Linked DNA regions of Homo sapiens: region 1 is linked to region 2. Evidence: promoter capture Hi-C in 16 types of primary human blood cells and fetal thymus (Javierre and others, 2016). All regions are on one chromosome and are shown on one strand. Each heading gives the region's core, a stretch centred on a gene start or on the middle of the fragment in contact. The rest is flanking DNA. Distances are from core to core; before and after follow the strand shown.

Evidence for each region. Contacts are between HindIII fragments. The CHiCAGO score rates a contact against its expected background, and 5 or more counts as called.
Region 1: a contact is called between a fragment that was not itself captured here and the fragment with the promoter of UBASH3B in region 2, in 1 of 17 cell types (neutrophils). The highest score is 5.1, in neutrophils.

The regions. Positions count from the first base shown.
Region 1 is chr11:123,571,988-123,577,126 of GRCh38, forward strand. All of the region lies in intron 2 of GRAMD1B (GRAM domain containing 1B), which reads left to right. Among named protein-coding and RNA genes, the nearest start is that of SCN3B, 80 kb to the right of the region's middle. RefSeq lists enhancers at 3,792-4,293, 4,294-4,793. The HindIII fragment of the contact is 2,429 bases long and covers 2,543-4,971 here.
Region 2 is chr11:122,654,165-122,659,124 of GRCh38, forward strand. UBASH3B (ubiquitin associated and SH3 domain containing B) reads left to right here and starts at 1,558. Exons shown (of 14, transcript NM_032873.5): 1 at 1,558-2,046. The coding sequence starts at 1,886. RefSeq lists an enhancer at 1,463-1,964 and a silencer at 2,168-2,217. The HindIII fragment of the contact is 6,403 bases long and covers 1-4,960 here.

The DNA of each region.
Region 1 (5,139 bases), core at 2,507-5,006, 920 kb after region 2:
GAATAGGCCTCTAGCTCTTCCTGACTGGAAATGTCCCAAGCACACAGATCCTTTCTCATTCACCAAAATGAACTTGAATGCCTCACATATGCCAGGTGGTCAGGAAATATTTGTGGAACTGAAGAGCCAGATCCAAAGTCATATCACCTTGTCTAGGTACTTAACCCCCCTAGACTCAGGTTTCTTACATGTGAAGTTGAGAGCTGAATATACTAACTCTAAACTCTGGGAGGGAGTCTTAGTCCCATAGCCCATCTAACACCAGTCTTCCTTCCATCCCTACAGCATATGTAAGGTCTTTTTTATTTTTAGCTCTTAAATCCCAAGATTTTGAAATATAATGCAATCCTGTTATTAATAATAGTGGCAGGGTCAGATGAATGGCACATTATAAAGTTGGTTTGAAACTTTATGTTATGTTATGCATGTTAGGTGTTAGAAGATACTCAGGAATTGGTTTTGTTTGCTCAGCAGGACATCCAAATCCATGGGATAATGGGTTAACTGGTAAGAGTTTCAGGACTCTAGCAAGTTTAGTGCTGACTTTGCTGAGTTAGAACTAGAACTGCAAACATTTCTTCTTTTGTAGAGAAGGATCAGAGTGGAGGTAGAGCACCGGGTGGGGACATGTAAGGGGTATATGTGGGCTTAGTCTGGAAGTGTAGATGTCCATCAGGTAATTGGAGGGAGAGAGAGAGAGAGAGAGAGATTGCTGAGACATGGAAGAGTGAGTGTGTATGGCAAAAGGATCTGCAGACAGACCCCAATGGCTGAGGCAGAGGCGCAGGTAGGCCCCGATGGCTGGGGCAGAGGCGCAGGTAGGCCCCGATGGCTGGGGCAGGGGCGCAGGTAGGCCCCGATGGCTGGGGCAGGGGCACAGGTAGGCCCCGATGGCTGGGACAGGGGCGCAGGTAGACCCCGATGGCTGAGGCAGAGGCACAAAGAGGCCCCGATGGCTGGGGCAGGGGCGCAGGTAGACCCCGATAGCTGAGGCAGAGGCGCAGATAGGCCCCGATGGCTGGGGCAGAGGCCCAGGTAGGCCCCGATGGCTGGGGCAGAGGCGCAGGTAGGCCCCGATGGCTGGGGCAGGGGCGCAGGTAGGCCCCGATGGCTGGGGCAGGGGCGCAGGTAGGGCCCGATGGCTGGGGCAGGGGCGCAGGTAGGCCCTGATGGCTGGGGCAGGAGCTCAGTTAGACCCCGATGGCTGAGGCAGAGGTGCACTGGAAATGTAGCCAGTGTTGGGGTTTTCAGAGGTAGGCTGAGTGAGATAATTGAGGAACATATAGTCTAGAGTTCAGGTTTTATTCCACAGAGGGTGGGAAATTATAGGGGTCTTTAATCATCAAAAAGGATGAAAAAAATGCCAAATCCTCTTTTTAGAAAGTTCACTTTGACAGGAAAAGAGAGAATGGATTGAAGCCTGGAGGCAGGAAGTTGATTCCTTCTTTCTTTGTACTCACCCAGCTACCCACTGTCTTTCCATCTGTGCCTCTTTCTGTCCACCGGGCAAACAAACACAATTGAATGCCTGCTTCCGAAAATGAGCTTGACAATCAGATAGGCCTGTGTTTGAAAGTTTGAAATCTTGCCCTGCCTCCCATCCATCTGTGTGACTTTGGGTGAATTATTTAATCTGTCAAGAATCCAAATATATCACCTGAAAAATGGGACTAATAATACTGTTCTTTGCAACTTCATGGGTTTGTTGGGGGGATTAAACGAAATAATATTTAATAAGTACTCGGTGCTGCACCAGGAGCTCATGAACACTCAATAATGTTTAGTTATTTTTATGAATATTAGCAGGTTGTAGGTACAGATTTGGGAGCCATCTTGATATTCGGAATTGGTAAAGCCAAGGGTATGAAGACTGTCACTAGGATGGGATTCAGTTCAGCGGAAAACATGCCACTTACAGAGCCCTGCTGGGTCGTGTGGGGCGTGCAGAGGGCTGAGCCTCCAGGAGTTTGTAGGTCCTTCATACCAGGCTATGTGCTTTCAGTGCTTTAGTCAGCTCCAAGGTGGAGATTTAGAAAAGCTTTTTGGAGCAAGTGGGATTTGAAATGGGTCTTGAAGAATGAACAGAATTAAAAAAAAAAAAAAAAAGAAGAAAGAGCAGGACTCCAGCAGGGAGATGCAGAGGGCAAGGGCTCTTTAGGCTCAAGTAGTGCGTCGTATGGGAGTTTGGAGGCAGGAGAAAGAGCATGTATATTAAGGGAATTGGGGGAAAGTGTATAGGTGTGGAATATGCAAGCCCTTTAAGAGCATATAAGGAGAGAAAAAGCATAGAGGTGTCATTTACTTTTAGCAGAGAACTTTAGATTCCATTTTGAGGATTTGGGACTTTAATGTGGGAGCTACTAGAACACAGTAAGATGTTGGGCTTGTATTTAGAAAGATTAATGACACAGCTGTGAGTGAGTAGGAAGAGGAAAAGGAGGCAGAGAAGACCACTCAACTGGCTATTTATTGGAAGAGGGTGAGCAGAATTCCTTGAACCTGAACTGGGGCCCTGGGGAAGGAAGGGAAGGATGAGGTAAAAAGCTTTGTAGAAATAGAATTGGTGGAATTCAGTGACTCATTTTTTAGTGGAGTGAGATGGAAGAGAGGGGTCTGCAGCCTGAGAAACCTGGTAATGAAACTGCCATTGAGAATGGGCAGTCGTGGGAGGAGGTCTGGGAGGAAAGATGTCCAGCTCTGTGTTCAGTGTGGGGCACTCATGAGACATTGTCTGGAGGAAGCATCCACCTGGCAGCAGGTTGTTGGGTCAGGCTAGCGACTGTGACCAGGGCCGGAAGCAGGTAGAGGAGTCTCTGCCTGGTTGAAGTTAGAGAAAGCTGGAGACGGCCAGGGAGGTGACAGACTCACCTTTAGGGAAGGATTAATTGCAGGCTGGGTAGCAAGAGTTGAGACAGTAGTTGAGACCGGCAGAGGAGTAGAAGAGAGGTGCTTGTCATCAGGGAGAAGTTTCCAAGAACAGCACAGATGATCAACAGCCTTAAGAGCACAGAGAGATGGTATAAGTTGTTTATTGGCTGATGTGTTGAAGGCAGCATTTTAGGTGTGTAGATCTTTGCATGGTGTGTGTAGAGTGGGCTAAAGTGGGACTGCTGGGCGGTGAGGAGTTCTCATGCTTTGATCATTTCATGTGAGATTCGTGTGGTTTTGGATAGTTGGAGTCAGTTCTCCTCTGGTTAGAGTGTGTTGCCAACCTCTTGCTTGAAGCCAGTTAGCAGGGATTCTGGGTTTGGGGAAGGATGAAGGAATCTCCTTTCCATTCCAGGGTCTGGAATTTGTGAGGAAATTACACAACGGCTGGGGGGCCATTGTGTCTGAGATAGGCATGTACTTGATTGTCATCCTTTTTCTAGTTCTTTTTGAGACAGGATCTCATCATGTTGCCCGGGCTGGTCTCAAACTCGTGGTCTCAAATGATCCTCCTGCCTCAGTCTCCCAAGTAGCTGGGATTACAGCTCATGCCACCACTCCCAACTTCTCTAGTTATTTTTTGAGCAAACTATTATAGTTGGGACTAGAGGGTAGAGGTCCTCGTTGTTCTAGTAACATAATCCTAGAAGACAGTTTAAACCTTGGAATATGTGGTTACGGGCTTGAGTTGGCCCTAGAGCAAGGAGGCTCACCCCAGAAAGACGTGTGTTGGCACCTGCTCTCCACGCTTCCCCAGGGGTTGTGCACTCATGGATCTGCCTGCCACCAGCCCCACGGCCTGGCATCTCTAACCAAAGTAAAGGAAGGTACCTTCCTTTCTCCAGAGTTTATGGTAGCAAACGAGTTTAGAGAGTAAGGATAAGGAATGGGTGGGGCAAAAACGGGAAGAGCCTCTTTTGAAAGAGGCATCTTGGGCCTCCCCCAATAACAATTATTGTTAGTATTAGAAATGAGATTTTAAATGCAAATTCTGTTTTAGGATGAAGTGGAACATTGGGCCTTGCTTTTCTCCATACATATTTGGGGCACATTTATCTTCCTTTTCTCTGGTCTCCTTTTTTTTTCTTTATCAGTTTCCTTCCAAAAGTTACCGCACTGCCTGCCCCCAGCTCCCCTCCTGCCCACACTCGCTGGTTTAGGCTCTTGGGATTTGTTGCCTTTCTCTCTGCTAAGGATGTCCAGGTGGAAGGTTTTGCTGAAAGGGGCATGGTTTTCATTGCAAATGGGGCCAATGGGACATCTGAGGTCACAGCTGCATCTTCATGCAAATGACAGTGTCCCCAGCCCTGCACCCCACTCCCCGAGGGAAGGCTGGGATGCAGCCTGCAGGGGGGTCCAGGGTGTTCCTGAAGCCTGACCCAGCTGAGAGGCTGCTGAGCAGGTGGGCAGGACACCCCAGCAGCCCCGTGCAGGCTTTCCAATCTCACATTTCCTTTCCTTCCCATTTCTGCTGGCACTTTCTACTTAGCCTCTCCCTTTCTCCATCTCTTTCCTTTCTCCACTCTCGGAAGCAAAGCAAACATTCAACTGCATTCAGTTTCTCTCTCCCTTCTGTCTCTCATCTCTTCTTCTAGTCCATTGAAAACGGAAGTGAAATATCAAATAGTCAATATTTTATTTGCAGCTTATAAGCCTTGATGTAAGTGGATTTGGTCCTGTGGGAAGTACAAGGTACTTATTGGGAATAAATGTTGGGGTAAGGGAATATGGAATGTGAGAACTTCGGCTGTGTGCATCTTTACCCTGGGCAGAGGAAGCAGGAACCCACATGGCTTCCTTACAAGGAAATAATATGGTGTGGGTGAGTTACAAATCAGAAGAGCTGCACTTTGTTTCTCTCAACAGTGGGCATTTAGCTTCCCTCTGTCAGGCACTGGTCTTCATTTTTTAACATAGGGATTATGGTACTTGCCATTACTCCCTTGGTGGAATGTTTTAAGAAATAATGCGTATGTGAAGGCTGTGAAAAATAGGATTGTAATTGTTATTTTCATGAACAAAAATATCTGAACAAAATATAGAAGCTTTGCATTTGCAGTATGTATAAAATGAGCTGATTGTATTGGATGGTCTCCAGTGAGCCTTTCAGGTATTAAATTCTATATGCCCCAGACAATTTTTGGCATATAATAGGGGCTCAAACAATAACAGGTTGGACGGACGGATGGACGGATGCATGTCTAGATGTCG
Region 2 (4,960 bases), core at 308-2,807:
CACATTGTTGCTTAAGCTCCAGCTGTCTTATCTCCCTGCTTCCAAACACCACTGGCTATTCTTTAGGAAACCAATTCCGGGCTCAGGGAGTTACACTGTATCATTTCCCCTGGTAAAACCTTCACAGGCCTTATAAAGCAACCTCAAAAAGCCACTCCATGGGTGCTGGTCACCATCCCTCCCCCATATTCCAACCAGGGACAGGCCCGGACTGACATTTCTGGAAAACCCAGTGTGTGCAAGGTTAGGTTACCACGGTCCATACCAATGAGGAAATTAGGCTGTAGAGAGAAGTAACTTGTCTAAGGCACCGCAGTGGATACGAGTGCTGTAGCTACGCACTTACCAGCTCTATGATCTTCCCCAACCTCTCTGAGCTGAGTTTTCTCATCTGTAAAACTGGGATAATGATTAAACACACTCCTAGGGTCAGTATAAAACTTCAGTGAGTTCATTCATTACGATTAGCACAATGACTGGCACATACAAGAGCCCAATAAATGTTAGGTTTTATTATTATTATTACCCAAAAAAGACTATCAGTTAGGGTGTACTCATTGCCTCTTTCATTATAGCAAGTGGGACCCTTGTCCCTGACTGAAGACAATGACTTTGTTTCCAAACGAAAGAGGGTTAGCATCCCCCAGCCAAATTCACCAGGTGGGGCATGGGGCATCAATATGGTTGTGGCTTCCACCATCTTTGCAGTGGGAGTAGTTTTGTCCAGCCTATGATACAATTCACTTATTATTGTGCAGTGGTGATTCGGTCCGTCTTTGAATCCTTTTATTGACAGGATATCCACTCCCTAATGAAATAAGCCCGTTCCCTTTTGAACACCTCTTATAATTAGGAAGTATGTTTTCTCTGTTCCTTCTTCCTCTACCCTCCTAGCCCTTCCTTCTTCTCCTCCTCCTTCCTCCTTTCTTTTTCCCTTCCCTCTTCTTTCTGCCCTGTCCCTCTTTTCTTGTCCCCTCCCAGGTCCTGCCACCTCTGAGAACCTGAGGTCCTTCTCCCCAACCCCTCTGCCCCACCGGGAAGGCACTATTCAGTCACTGACCATAACCTTGTAGAGCGCAGTAGGTCTTTAGTGCAGCCACTTGGCCGGCTGATTGGGAACTCAACTTCCGATGGTCCTAACAACCCTTTGGGTTTTGCAGGATCTTTGAGAAGCAAAACCTTTTACCTAGGCCTTACGGCTTGGCCTTCTGGTCCATTAGTATCATCCACCAGTTCACCCAATTTCCATTAATAACCGCATCTAGAATCACATGAAACTTGAGATGGGTTGATCTCCTGTCTTGAGGCCCAGCTGGGCGGGTATGCCAGCCAAGGAGAGGGCTGGGGCGCCGGGGGTGACTCTCGGGAGGTGAAGCACACAAGCAGCCCATAAGGTTGGGATCCTCCGTCTCCAAGTAGCGCGACTACAGCTCTTGCCCGCACGGAGCAGCCTCGGACAGCGCGGCCGCTTTAAGAGAGGGGCGGGGCCCGGGTACAGGCAAGTCAGGGCCAGCCCACAAGGCTCCTTTTCCTTTTTGATCCATTCAAAAATTACTCATTGCAAATTCCCGGACTGCTAGGCGAGGAGAGGGAAGGGGGCGGAGGAGACAGGGCTACTGCAGGCGCAGAGCTGGGGGCAGCCGGGGGCCCGAGTGGCTGAGGCTGGTCCCGCAGCGGCCGCTTGCCGGCGTTCTGGCTCCTGTGGCCTCACCAGGAAGCGTCAGAGTCCCGACACTGGGGAAGCTCGGAGCGCCGCCTCCGCTGCCGCCGCCTCCTGCCTGGCTCTGGGTCCCCGAGCCCCCTCCCCTGGCCCAGCCCGACTCCCTCCTCCTTCCCGAACCATCCGGCTCGGGCTCCTTCCCTGGCGATGGCTGGCCGCTGAGCCATGGCTCAGTACGGCCACCCCAGTCCGCTCGGCATGGCTGCGAGAGAGGAGCTGTACAGCAAAGTCACCCCCCGGAGGAACCGCCAACAGCGCCCCGGCACCATCAAGCATGGATCGGCGCTGGACGTGCTCCTCTCCATGGGGTTCCCCAGAGCCCGCGCGTAAGTGGCCGGGCTCGCAGCCCTCGGCGACCCCTCCCGCGCGCGCGGCCGGCCCTCGGCTTCGCTCCGGCTCGCCTCCCAGCGCCTGCGGGACAGGCAGCGCGCTCCCCGCTGCCCGAGACCTGTTGGGGGCGGGATGGGCGCGCTGGCAACCCGGGACTCGGCTCCGGGCGGGGGTGCGGGGGAAGACGCGGCGCGGGGGCGTTGGGCCAGGGCTCGCCGTGGGATGCCTAAAGCTGGGGGACGAGGGCGCGGGGTTCGAGTCCCGGGTATAGTGCTCAGCCTCCGCCCCAGCCGGGTGGAGCTCAGCGTTTCTCTCGCGCGCTCCCCTAGGTCTCCAGCGCCGAGCGCCTAGGGAGGCGGGGCCCTGCGGAGGACTCGGGCACCCTCTCCGTCTGGAATACTGGGCTGGTCTGGGATCCTCCGGTGTCTGGGAAAGGGCGGGAGACTGCGGGGCAGGGAGGCCGGCGCCCCCGTTGCAGCGGCTTCCAGCTCCGGATGTCGCTCTCGGGTTCGGTCTCCCCCTGGAGTAGGAGGAGCGGGAGCGTGGGTGTTCCTGCGTGTTCATTGATGGGGAGGATGGAATCAGAAGGAGAAGCGATCCCTCCAGGGGACCTGGGTTCTCGTCAGTGGTGACGGCAGCTCAGAAATCTGTGGGTGCCTGAGAGTAAGGAGGGGGAGCTGTTCTTCATCCTTCCTCTAGGAGAGTGGGGTAGGGGAGGGCAGGGAGAGCGCAGGTGGCTGCCCCTGGAGCCTGCTGGGGAGAGGCCTGTTTGCCAGCATAGGGTGGCGGCGGCCGGAGTCGTCTCAGGCCGGTCGGCTCAAGTCTCAGGGGCTGGAACTCTGCCTAAGAGGAAGCCAAGGCCCAGCGGCCAGGCCCTTCTCCCCTGGTTAATCCCTGCCGTGCAGATTTCTTAGGTGGGGACACAAGGCCTGGCGTCCGGACTGGGCGCAGCTTCTTTTCATCTTTGAATTACAGCACCTGAACAGGAGAGTTGGCCAAACTTAATCAGTGAGGGCCAAGTAAATGAAAGTCCTTTTTATTTTTTTCCCTTCTCACATTTTTTTTTCAGGTGATAACTTTATTTATGTATTTATTTTTCTGAGACGGAGTCTCGCTGTGTCGCCAGGCTAGAGTGCAGTGGCGCAATCTCTGTAACTTCCGCCTCCCAGGTTCAAGCGATTCTCCCACCTTAGCCTCCTGAGTAGCTGGGACCATAGACATGCGCCACCACACCGGGCTAATTTTTATATTTTTAGAAGAGATGGGGTTCTGCCATGTTGGCCAGGCTGGTCTCGAACTCCTGACCTCAGGTGATCCACCCACCTCGGTCTCCCAAAGTGCTGGGATTACAGGCAATAACTTTATGTCTCCCCTCCCTTATCTCTGGGCAAACCTTGTTTATTCTCTACTAACTTGGTTGTAATCTGTTAATCAAAGTAGACCCTTGAATTTGTTATTCTCCAGGCTGCTGGGACACGTTGGAGTGGCCTTAGAAGGCTGCAAAATGGACTGATGGTTTCTGCCTTCCACTGACGTCCCAATACGACTTCCTAATACTAGGGCTCCAGTTCCTGATACCAGAATTACAGGGAGAAAATGTGGGTTCTGCAGGGGTGTGTCAGGTGTGGACGCTTCAGGTGAAGTCGTCGGTGTGGATGATCAATGTGCACAGCTCTCCTTAAAAACTGGAGGTGGGGCTGGGTGTAACCCCAGCAGTTTGGGAGGCTGAGGCAGCCGGATCACTTGAGATCAGAAGTTTGAGACCAGCCTGGCCAACATGGTGAAACCCTGTCTTTACTAAAAATACAAAAATTAGCTGGGTGGGGTGGTGCATGCCTGTAATCCCAGCTACTTGGGAGGCTGAGATAAGAGAATCGCTTGAGCCCAGTAGGTGGAGGTTGTAGTGAGCCAAGATCGCACCACTGCACTCTAGCCTGGGTTACAGAGCGAGACTTCATCTCAAGAAAAAAAAAAAAAAAAAGCTGGAGGTGGGAGTGGGGAAGTCAGCTGGGGAATGCTGCAGAATTAGCATAGTCTCAGGCTACTGCCTTTTTTGAAATAAGGCCAGCATTAAAAACCTAAATTGCTTAATTAAGGGAAGAAATACTTAACTGAACTCCTCAGTCATATTTGAGATTCAAATTCAAATCAGCTTTAAAGGGACATCTTTTCTCCTGCTCTGAGTCCAGGAGGTCTTGACATGTCTTGACAGATTAGCATAAGGGTCATTTTTGGCTTGTTTAACCCCTGAGGTCTCCTAATAGCTAGCATGTATTGAATACTTACTCCATACTGTTCTAAGTACTTATATCTTTATTACCCATTTTATCCTCCTAGCAACTCAATGAGGAAGGTACCACATGCCCATTTTATGAATTGGGCAACTGAGGTTTAGAAGGGTTGCATAACTTGCTCAAGGTCACAACAGTAAGCAGTGAAGCTGGGATTCAAACCCAGGTATTCTATCTGCACAGCCCAGGCCTCACACCATCTAGGGCCAGTAGGGCCAGGATAGAAATGATTGAATGTGGGTAAAATGCTTAGAACAGTTCCTGGCACATAGTGAGCAATCGTGAAGTGTTAGTTACTGTATTAGCTTCCTGTGACTGCTGTAACAAATTGTCACAAACTGAGTGGCTTAGAACAGCAGAAATTTATTCTCTCACAATTGTAGAGACCAGGAGTTGAAAATCAGTATCGCTGGGCTGAAATCAAGGCATCAGCAGGGCCGTGCTCCCTCTGGAGGCTCTAGGGGAATCCACTCCCTGCCTCTCCTACCTTCTGTTGGGGGCTGGCATTCTTTGGCTTGTGGCTGCATCAATCCAATCACTGCGTTTGTGGTCAAATTGTCTTTGTTTTCTGTCTGTGTCCAATCTTCCTTGGCATGTCTCTTATAAGGATACATGTGGT